3 separate regions of the Homo sapiens genome follow, and regions 1 and 2 are each linked to region 3. The links are contacts of gene promoters, found by promoter capture Hi-C in blood cells and fetal thymus (Javierre and others, 2016). All regions are on one chromosome and are shown on one strand. The core of a region is centred on a gene start or on the middle of the fragment in contact, and the rest is flanking DNA. Distances in the headings are between cores, read along the strand shown. Region 1 overlaps KIFAP3 (kinesin associated protein 3). Region 2 has its middle 13 kb from the start of SCYL3. Region 3 holds the start of FMO1 (flavin containing dimethylaniline monoxygenase 1).

Region 1 (3,688 bases), core at 120-2,619, 1.3 Mb after region 3:
TGAATTCATTAAGAATAAGATTCTTTAAGATGCTGTAGCCATTTAGTTTTATTGTAATAAAAGGAAAATTTATAATTATGCATATAAAAGATTAAGAATAAAACTAAATGGGAAATGACAACTAAACTTGATATATGCTGGTGAAACTCATTAGAAGACTGCTTAACCATGCTCTTGGATTTTATTTTCTCAACAATACAAAAGTTCAAGTCCAAAGAAATGAGTAATACCTTTGAGCAACTTAAAATATATATTTATTACATATAGATTTATAGAAACAAGATGCCATTAATATTGGTTCAATGAAAAATTTTAGAAGCTATGTTATAGTAATAGCACTTTAACATGCATGCATGTTACATTTTTCAGTGTTCAAGACAATTAGCATCTTTTCTTATAACCTCTTTTCTTATGATCTATTTTCTTAGGCACCCAACATTCACAAAACTTTTTTTGCATGTAACTGATAGGTATTTCTATTTAGCTGTAAATTATTTCATAATCATAAAACTGGACATTAATTATCTGCGACAGCAATGGATGCCACATTCTATGAATGTTAAATGTGCTGAGAAGTTTAAATTTAATAATCCTTGCTTTGAAATTTTGTAGAAGTACCTGATACTCAGTGGTAAGACAAGCTCTCCATCTAGTGGTTGGTCTATAAATGACAAACATTTAGATCTCGATGTAGTAGTACATCATTTTACTAGTGTTAGGTATTGTTTTATACTCGTTATTTCGTTCAACCTGCACATCTCTTCTTATTGTAAGAATTTCAAGGAGAAAATATTCTCTTTTCCAAGAACAGTTCAGCCCTGTAGAAGATAGGGGCAAGCTTCTTCTACAATCTGATTTCATCTCCATGGAATACCACAGCATCTCAGTTATTTGATGAAGCATATCCCCATACTAAGGGGGCAAAATTTGCTCCATTCCAATGAAATATAACCTTTAAAATTTCCAGCCAGTTTTCAAATTCTTCTCCTTTAGTCTCAGTCCCCAACTCGTAAAGGTATAACTTTAATTTTTTTTTTTTTTTTTTTTTTGGAGACAGGGTCTCACTCACTCTGTTGCCCAGGCTGGAGTGCAGTGGCGGTCATGGCTCACTGCAGCCTCAACCTCCTGGGCTCAAGTGATCCTCCTGCTTCAAACCCATGAGTAGCTGGGACCATGGGTGTGCACCACCATGCCTGCATAATTTTCTGTATTTTTGTAGAAATGAGGTTTTGCCATGTCTTGAACTCCTGGGCTCAGGCAACCCGCCTACCTCAGCCTCCCAAAGTGCTGGGATTTTAGGCATAAGCAACAGCATCTGGCCTAAAAAAACTATTTTAAAAGAGAAAAGATGGTCCGGGCACAGTGGCTCACGCCTGTAATCCCAGCACTTTGGGAGGCCAAAATGGGTGGATCATGAGGTCAGGAGTTCAAGACCAGCCTGGCCAAGATGCTGAAACCCAGTCTCTACTAAATATACAAAAATTAGCTGGGTGTGGTGGCACACACCTGTAATCCCAGCTAATTTGGAGGCTGAGGCAGGAGAATTGCTTGAACCTGGGTGGCAGAGGTTGCAGTGAGCCAAGATCACGCCACTGCACTCCAGCCTGGGCAACAGAGCAAGACTCCATCTCAAAGAAAAAAAAAAGAGAAAAGATAACATTGTTGTGAATTGTAGCATATTTGATCATTGTTATTTCTGCCAGTACCCCTCTGTAGGTTCTCATTACTTCACATTTGGACAGCTGTAATAGGTTCTTCAGTGTTCATGATTTTGCCTCTCAACCCCCTTTCCTACTACAATTATCTTCCTAAAACATAGAATTTGGTCATTCTCTTTCTTAGCAACCATTGACAACTCTCCAGTAGCCACCAGTTCTTAGCAGGTTTATGAAAAGCTTCAATATCTAGTCCTAACCTCCCTTTCTAGCCTTATCTCCTGCCATTTGCTTATATCATAAATCTAAAACTTTAACCATAACAAACCATTTGCTCTTCGTCAGCCACTCCTCTCTGTTGCTCAGGCTGCTCCACCATCAGGAATTCTGTCTCTCTTTGCCTGTGAGATCTTACTTGACTTTTAAGACTAATTCATTCATGAATTCATGTAATTTTTGAATGCCCACTCCATGTCAGATACAATACTAGAGCCTAGGGATATAGCAATGGCCAAAACACTCCTTGCCCTCCATGGTGTTTATTTTCTAATGGGAAAGAAATACAATAACAAAATATGTCAGGAGGTAACAGATGCATTAAAATCAAAGTATTTTGTATGAAGACTTTCTAGCTGCCAAGATTGTCCTGTAGCAATTTGTACATGTCTCTAATATACTCTTATATTAAATATTTATCCCCCCTCTTTTCTTCTGTAGCAATTTATACATATGCTACAGTAGGATGACATCAGGTTATTATCAGAATATTTCTTCCATGTTAGGTGCCTCCAATCCTTATAGTCAAGGACTATGTCGTATTTGTTATTGCCTTCCCAGCACCATGTTTTTTCCTTGGCTTCAAAAACTATACTTAACCACATTGTAGGAACTCAATAAATGTTTCTACTATTTGGATAGGTGGATGGATGGGCAAATGGTATATAGAGTCACTATTACAATAGACCTAAATTTCCCATGACAAATCATACTTAAGCTGAAATTACCCTGATGATCAATTAACAATCTACTTAGAAAGATAAACATACTGATTTTGATTCTATAATCAATATATTAGAGAAATTGATAAAAAGAATGAACTATTCCAAAAAATTATGAAGAAGTAATTTCATACAGTTTTATAATATCCTGGAAAGTTTCTTCCTATAACAGCTCATGTTAAATTCTTTCACTTGACAATTCCAAAAGAATTCCAGCCTTCAATATTACCTGATGGATCACAAAGACTGGTTTGTTAAGAAAAATCACTGCTGCCTATTTATAAATATGTAGTCATAAATGATTTTGTCTTGGGAAGAATAGAATTCCTAAAGACAGACTCAGACTAAAAAGATGAAATTTAGCATGGTAGTTATAAGTAAAATTTTGAATGTGTGTGTGTGTGTGTGTGTGTACACACACAACTGTACATATATACAGAAAAAACTTAATGTTACATGTAACTATAACTCAATATTATATAACTATATATAACTCAATGTTATATATATATACACATATATACACAGTCAATTATAAGCAGTCAATATTAGGCAACTTTGTGATAATGTCTTCTTAAAATTTTTGTTTAAGATTAATACAGTTTTAGCCTACAATAGTGTAAAGTCAGATATAGGATCTTTTATTCTGTACTGGTTTCAGATCACATCATAAGTATCACGTTAATTTTAGCTTCTTCATTTGAAGACAAACACTAGAAAATGGAAGTGGTTTTAGAGAGCAACTGAGATGGTAAAGATTAGAGACCATGTAATGAGGCTTGAATAAACAAGGGTTGTGAAGCAGTCATATCAAAGAAGAATTGGACTCCTTGTGTGGTTTCAGAGGGTAATTCTAAGACTAGTTGAACTGGATTTTAGAGCTGTGTAATAAAGAACTTTCCAACAGTTTTACATATCCATAAATGGAATGAACTGCCTTGACAAAGTAGTGAGCACTTCCTTCTGGAGGTGTTCAGAAGAGAGCTGGATAGACCCTGTCAAGGATGTTGTGAATAAAAGTGTAGCCAATATTAT
Region 2 (3,786 bases), core at 462-2,961, 1.3 Mb after region 3:
GTTATAATGTAACTACAATTACTGTTTGTAGTTCAGGCAACAGGACACAGGGGTTCTGCTTCCACATCAGATACATTGGTTGACCTAAAAGTAGCAACAGCAAAAGCTACCATCCTGAGTACCTACAAGCACACAATATAGTACACACAAAACCAGCTGCCGTAGTGGTAATCACTAATGGCTGTTGAGTTGCACAACTGGTCATAAATATTGTCATCATCCCTAATACAATTAAAAGTATAGTGTATATAGTGTAACAGTGTAGCCAAAATTGTCACCAAAGGGTAAATATAACTTTAGTCCATTATATCTTAGGCCTTTTTTTCTTAGCTTGTTCATCACCAGATGTGAGTCATCTGGTCTCTTAGTTACCTATTTCTGTTTCTGCCTTCACCACTACTTCCTTTTTGTTTTTTTGTTTTTGCTTTTTTTTTTTTTTTTTTTTTGAGATGAAGTCTCCCTCTGTCACCCAAGCTGGAGTGCAGTGGCGCAATCTTGGCTCACTGCAAGCTCCGCCTCCTGGGTTCAAGCGATTCTCCTGCCTCACCCTCCCAAAGTAGCTGGGACTACAGGTGCGTACCACCACACCTAGCTGTACTACTTCCATTTCTTTAATGCAAGTCTCTCTCTGAGTAATCAGGCCTCTAGTCCTGCAAAATAAGTGTTTGACACTAATAGAAGGTATTTATTCTAGCCTAAATAGCTATCCTCTCCTATCAGACAAGCTCATTTCCTCATTGGAGGGAAAACTCCTAGCAATGCTTCTTCTTTGCCTTGGGAATATATCCATTGAGTCCCATCAGCTAGAGGAAGGAGAAGAAAAACTGAATGCAATTAGGGACCCCACAAGCCTTTCTGAAAAGTAATTTTCCTCTTCTGCATCTGGTTGTGTACCATCACTTGATGCAGTATGGAAGTGCCTCAGATTCTCTCCAAGTGGTTGGAGTACCCTCTTTATATTCTTCATTTAATTCCCTAATCTATTGGATTCAGAGATGGAAATAACCCCTATTGTCCCAGTTTTCCTTTTTATAGGCTTGTGGTTCAAGTTAGAGCATCTATTTCATATATTTATAAACCTCTCCCTCATCAAGTTGGTATCTACATACATCAGCAGGGCTTTCTATAGTTACTTTTCCCAAGCTGGGTTTACACTAATTATCGAGGCATTTTGTTTCCATCTATGTGACCATATAGTCAGCCCATCAGCCGCAGCCCACCAATCACCTGGCTTCTTGTACTGTCTGCATTGAAACTACCTGGAGCTAAATATATTGTGCCAATTTGCTTGGTCCTTCTTTTCTGAGGGCATGTAGGTGGGAAGGCAGAGCCTAGCATTTAACTTTATTTCAGGTTATGGTGGCATTGCTATCCGTGACGCACTAGTAGTCTTTGTGTTTCCACTGTAAATCCTACCAGGGTATTTTCCTCTTATCACAGGTTCCCCTTTGATCTCAGTTGACACAGCCATCCTTCAGAATAGTGGAGGCCCAGTGTCTGCCATGCCGCCTTCTTGTGAGTGTAATATTTTGGCCCCTTCCTTAAAGTACGATTGATATTTTAATTCGCTCCAGATCTGAGCCATCACTCTGGACTGTTCGCAGTTTAATCTGTTTCAAAATATAGTTAGAAGCTTTGTTGCTACGATGTAGGCACCAGACCCATAAGACCTTCCAACTCAAGTAGCTCCAACTGGACCAAAAGTGGTTGTTTTTCTAAGGGCATAAATTTGTTTGTATCCCCTGGAATCCCTTACATCAAAATCCCACTGGTGGCTCCTGAAGCTTTCCTGACCTGATAGGGATCATCCACAGATCTAAGATCCAGAATCCAGTAAGTAATGCCACTAAAGAAAATTCTGAGACTAATGGGGGCACCTCTTTTTAATTGGGCTTGTATCAGTCAGAGTTTGATCAGAAAAACAGAACCACTATGAGTGATATAGCATATGGAATTTATTACAGGATTACCTCTTGTACAATTATAGCACCATTGTATAATATGAAACTATTCAAAGGAAGTAAAAATGAGCTCTAAGGAACATTCCCTGGCCCTAGAGTAAAGGGAACTGGCACATGTTCCTGGCACCATTTCAGATTTTCTATGAACCCAAGATGACTACACATCTCTGTTTCCATGGGAGTATCCTTTGTGGTTATTGTGTCCATCTCACTGTTGCATGTTGGGTAAGGGTGGAGAGTTCAAGATGGCAGGTACCTTCTTTCAGTCCACAGGTTCTAGATCAAGAAGAGCCATACTAGAAGAGAACCTGAACACCACTCCCAAAGAGCCTCATCCATGCCTGGATGTGATTTTGATGATGAGATCCTACACTTTAAACCAGAGCCTAATGCCATAACGATAGGAGGTTTTTGGCAGAGGAGGTAAGCATATTTTGCTTGTGGATGGGATGTAAATAACTGTGGCAGAAGGAGATATGTAACTAAAAAAGGTGACCATGGTATTCTCCAGCTCCTCTCATCAAAAGATGGACTCTATTTCCTCACTTTTTGAAACTGGGCTTCCCTTGTATCTCACTTCTACCAATAGAATGAGACAGAAATGATGAGTGAGTTCTTACAGGTTCAGCTCTTTTTCCTTCTTCTCTACAATTTACTACTGTTTCAAGTCTGCTGTGTAATCAGCACTGCACTAGTACATGAATATGAAGCTGAACCCCTCAGATTATATCTATTACAGCTTGCACCAGGTGGGACATGGAGCTGCCCACTAAGGCTTAGACTCCAGGAGGGTGAGTCAAGGAAACATCACCTTTTGGTTAGCTTAACTGTCAGGGTTTTTTCTTTTTTCTTTTATTTTTTTTTTACCAGAAGCAGAAATACTTTTTATTCTTTTAAAAATGTTTGTTATTTTTATTTTTTATTATACTTTAAGTTCTAGGGTACATGTGCACAACATGCAAGTTCATTACATATGTATACATGTGCCATGTTGGTGTGCTGCACCCATCAACTCGTCATTTACATTAGGTATATCTCTAATGCTATCCCTCCCACCTCCTCTCACCCCACAACAGGCCCCGGTGTGTAATGTTCCCCTTCCTGTGTCCAAGTGTTCTCATTGTTCAATTCCCACCTGTGAGTGAGAACATGCAGTGTTTGGTTTTCTGTCCTTGCGATAGTTTGCTCAGAATGATGGTTTCCAGCTTCCTCCATGTCCCTACAAAGGACATGATCTCATCCTTTTTTATGGCTGCATAGTATTCCATGGTGTATATGTGCCACATTTTCTTAATCCAGTCTATCATTGTTGGACATTTGGGTTGGTTCCAAGTCTTTGCTATTGTGAATAGTGCTTCAATAAACATATGTGTGCATGTGTCTTTATTGTAGAATGATTTATAATCCTTTGGGTATATACCCAGTAATGGGATGGCTGGGTCAAATGGTATTTCTAGTTCTAGATCCTTGAGGAATCGCCACACTGTCTTCCACAATGGTTGAACTAGTTTGCAGTCCCACCAACGGTGTAAAACTGTTCCTATTTCTCCACATCCTCTCCAGCACCTGTTGTTTCTTGACTTTTTAATGATCACCATTCTAAGAGCTTCTTTATTTCCAGTCCTGGGCTGAAGGAATCTTATTGTTGTGTTCCAGCTTTATTGAGATATAATGGACAGATTAAAAATTGTATGTATTCAAGGTGTACACTGTGATGACTTGATAGATGGATACATTGTGAAATGATTATCATAGCCAGGCACGGTGGCTCACAGCTGTAATCCTAGCACTTTGGGAGGCCGAGGTGGGGGGATCACTTGAGCCC
Region 3 (3,502 bases), core at 736-3,235:
ACGCCTGTCATTACCAAACTGCAGCGGCACTCTGAGCTATTTTAAAATTTTGAAGAAGCACAGTGATTCTTGATGTCAGTTGAACACTATGCTAAGTATTAGCTGAAAGTAGTTAACAGTTTTAATATTGTAAAAGACTGTGTTCCATTTGCTGACATCATATCTTTGCAAAGCTGGGTGTTTGACAATTGCTATGACAAAAAGCAAGTATTGCATGAAAACTGAGGTAGAATAGAAATGAAGGGTTCATGTCTGATCTGATTCCAAGGTTTGAGAAGTTGTGCAGTGCTCAGCAGGCACATAAACCTTATTATTAAGTAATTGGGATTAAGAATGAAATAAAAATATTATTTTTCTTTTAGTTTGTATATTACTTGTTCAAAAAACTACAAAGTTGTTAGAACATAAATAGTTATTAAGTTTTTGTCTACTTAATAGGAGAAACTATGGTCTGGGGGCACCTTGAAGAAATTGCACACCAAGGGCTCCTTGAACCTAGAAAGTTGAAAACTTCTGGGCAAGAGTTTTATTTTCCGAGTTTATTTTATTGACCCGGAGATTTTATTTGTTGATGTCAAGAAAATGCATATTATACTATATTTGAGGCTAGCATTGTATCAATTAGCCAATGTTTAACTGTTTCCAGTGTGACTCACCTATGCATTTACTAGGAAGCCATTGGCACTGTCAGATTTGTATCCAGCCCTCTATTTATGCATTCCCCATCTTCTCCTCCTTCCCTACTCCCTCTGTCTCTCTCTCTCACACACACACATACACACACACACACACTCCTACACCTTAGTGCATGAAAATACTTCAGAATACTGGTTGGCACAGACTGCACAATGATACCCTATCCTCAAGTGGGTTGTGACATTTCAGGAGTAATCAGAGAGAGATTCAGCTGGATGGCAGTTGGGGTGGGTGAAGGTGCCTACTTAGCCCCTGGGAACAAAGGAGCACAGCTGGTAAGAAACTTGGGTCCAAGGAGGGCCATACTCTGGGATTTCTGTCCTCTAGCAGCAGCTCCTCATTTACTCAAATGTTCCTAACCACAACAAGCAAATAAAAATTCTCCCAGGCTTTAGGTCCTCTGTGCCAGTTACAAGGCCATAGCAGATTCCCTAGGATGCAGGGGAAACTCTAATAACCAAGGACTCAGTTTCTCCATCTGCAGAACAGATGGCATAGACCTGAATATCTAAAAATGATTTTCAAACCCTTGATGTTTATGATCTTGTGAATTTAACTGGAGCAGGATTAGTAAAAAAGATGTGCCAATCACATGGAAATCAATAAATTTTGACATAATACATAGAATGAAGCACGAAACACTTTTAACAACAGAAAAAAAGATGACATGACAGAACAGATTAGTCAAATTCTAAAGGGGCTTGCCTTTTGCTTCCCACTTGTGCCAAATGCCAACATTTGGTAGTCACCCTTCAAAAACTATGATCTCAGACAATGTTAGAAGCTGCTGATGGAAGCACTAAAAAAAAAAAGAGACTTTTCCTCTTGCATTAGAAATCCAAGTTTTTCCCATTTGATTCAACCACTTAATAATCTACCCAACAGTATACTTACCTGTGTACATGGAAGACAGGTAAGTATACTGCTGGGTAGATTATTAAGTGGTTGAATCAATGATATTGTCCCATTATAAGTATCCAAACATTTACTACTCCTATACTTTGGGCCAAGGAGTAGCTTTATAGCTCCTCCAGGGTTGGACAGAGAAAGCTGCTTTCTGATAAGGTGGTTCTTCCCTGGAGCACAATAACAAAACAGGAAAACTCCAGACCCCACTTTCCTCATCCAAAGAAATCAGAGATTATATCTGGTTACTTACTTTACGTACTTGTAATTTCTGGTGCCAATGGCTCTGCCACGCAGGACTCTGGTATTAGCAGAGATCAAAATGAATCAGTATGAGCCAGTGCTGGCTTGGGAGTCCCCAGCACAGTGGATAAACCTGGTCTAAGAGATAAGGAATGTTAAATTTGAAACCCAAGGTTAGCCGTTGTTTATATTTTAACTTGTTGATTAATGCAACAGCGAAATGCTAGGAGAAACACTGTCTGGTGATATGTACTTTAGACTCACTCTTCTGCTTACAGACTATAAACTAAGTTAGGGAGTTACACCAGCATCCTCACTTGTTCATCAGTTTTATTCTTTAAGGGGATGAGAATAAAATAAGACAATTATGTTAACAGTTACTACACCACAGATTCACTTTTAAGGGCTTTGATCCATTTCACCTTTAGGGACAATTATTATTTTTAAAAAATCATATATTACTCACATTAGTAAACTCAATTTGTAAAGGCTTTTTAAGTGCAGCTGATTGCCCAAGCACTTGGGAAATAAAAGACAGGTATATGGGAGGAGTCTGATCTTGGGAATCACAAGTCCTGGGTTCGAGTATTGCGTTCACCAGCTATTATCAGAGTCATGTTGGAAAAATTGTATAACTTTTCTCAGCTTTAGTTTCCTCAATTTAAAATAGGCATGATCGAGTGGCTGCCAGGGGCTGGGGAAAGAAGGGAATGGGGAAGGATTGCTAATGAGTATGGAGTTTTCTTTTGGGTGTGATGAAAGTGTTTTGAAACTGGATAGAGGTTGTGGTTACACAGCATTATGAATGTACTAAATGCCACTGAATTCTATACTTTGAAATGGTTAACGACAGATTGTTGGAAAATGGTGGATAGGAGGCAGGACTAACTTGCAGTTTCCACGCAGACAGACAGAACAGCATGTGGAGACTCACACAGTGAAATTTTCCTCCAAGAAGTACTGCATGAACATACCAGGAAAACCAAAAGAATTCACAGGACCTTTGAAAGAAGTGGCTTGCCGCTGCAAACTCCATGAGACAGCTGAAAAACTGTGAGTGCCCAAAGTGTGAGTGGGGGAAAAAATCTGCCTCCAAACACGCAAACCCACTAGGGAACCTAAAAATCCAGATCACAGGAGAAGGATTTAACCTTACCTAGAGCTGGGATGAATTTAGAGAGCAAAACGAAATATAAAAGTAGAAGCAGTGGGAAGAGCCCTGTAGGTACTCTTGGTGCCCAGGGAAGTCATTTCTGACTTTATCTCACAGGGGTCCTTGAGGAGGGCTGCCAGTGAAATTGAGGAAGGACCACAGGGAGAAGGAAACTTCCAGCTGAACTTTGTAATAGTTTTGACTATTAGCCTGAGAAACACGAATACTTATCCAGGAGACCTTAGGGCAATCTTGCATTCTCCCTATACTACCGCAGCTGATGCTGTCTTGAAAATGAGGAAAAGGAGTCATTATACAAAAAAGATACTTGAACACACTTGTTTATAGCAGCACAATTTGCAATTGCAAAAAATGAAACCAGCCAAAATGCCCATCAATCAATGAGTGGATAAATAATTCGTGGTATATACATACCATGGAATACTACTCAGCCATAAAAAGGGATGAAATAATGGCATTCACAGCAACCTGGATGGAGTTGCA

Evidence for each region. The method cuts DNA at HindIII sites, captures the fragments that hold promoters and counts their contacts. A CHiCAGO score of 5 or more calls a contact.
Region 1: a fragment that was not itself captured here is called in contact with the fragment with the promoter of FMO1 in region 3 in 1 of 17 cell types (total B cells); the score reaches 5.5 in total B cells.
Region 2: a fragment that was not itself captured here is called in contact with the fragment with the promoter of FMO1 in region 3 in 1 of 17 cell types (M1 macrophages); the score reaches 7.7 in M1 macrophages.

The regions. Positions count from the first base shown.
Region 1 is chr1:169,926,061-169,929,748 of GRCh38, reverse strand. The region is part of intron 19 of KIFAP3 (kinesin associated protein 3); the gene reads left to right. Among named protein-coding and RNA genes, the nearest start is that of SCYL3, 34 kb to the right of the region's middle. The HindIII fragment of the contact is 1,057 bases long and covers 841-1,897 here.
Region 2 is chr1:169,905,446-169,909,231 of GRCh38, reverse strand. No RefSeq gene overlaps it. Among named protein-coding and RNA genes, the nearest start is that of SCYL3, 13 kb to the right of the region's middle. The HindIII fragment of the contact is 151 bases long and covers 1,636-1,786 here.
Region 3 is chr1:171,246,977-171,250,478 of GRCh38, reverse strand. FMO1 (flavin containing dimethylaniline monoxygenase 1) reads right to left here and starts at 1,985. Exons shown (of 9, transcript NM_001282693.2): 1 at 1,856-1,985. FMO1-AS1 (FMO1 antisense RNA 1) reads left to right here. Exons shown (of 5, transcript XR_922278.4): 2 at 2,752-2,898. The HindIII fragment of the contact is 5,013 bases long and covers 1-3,502 here.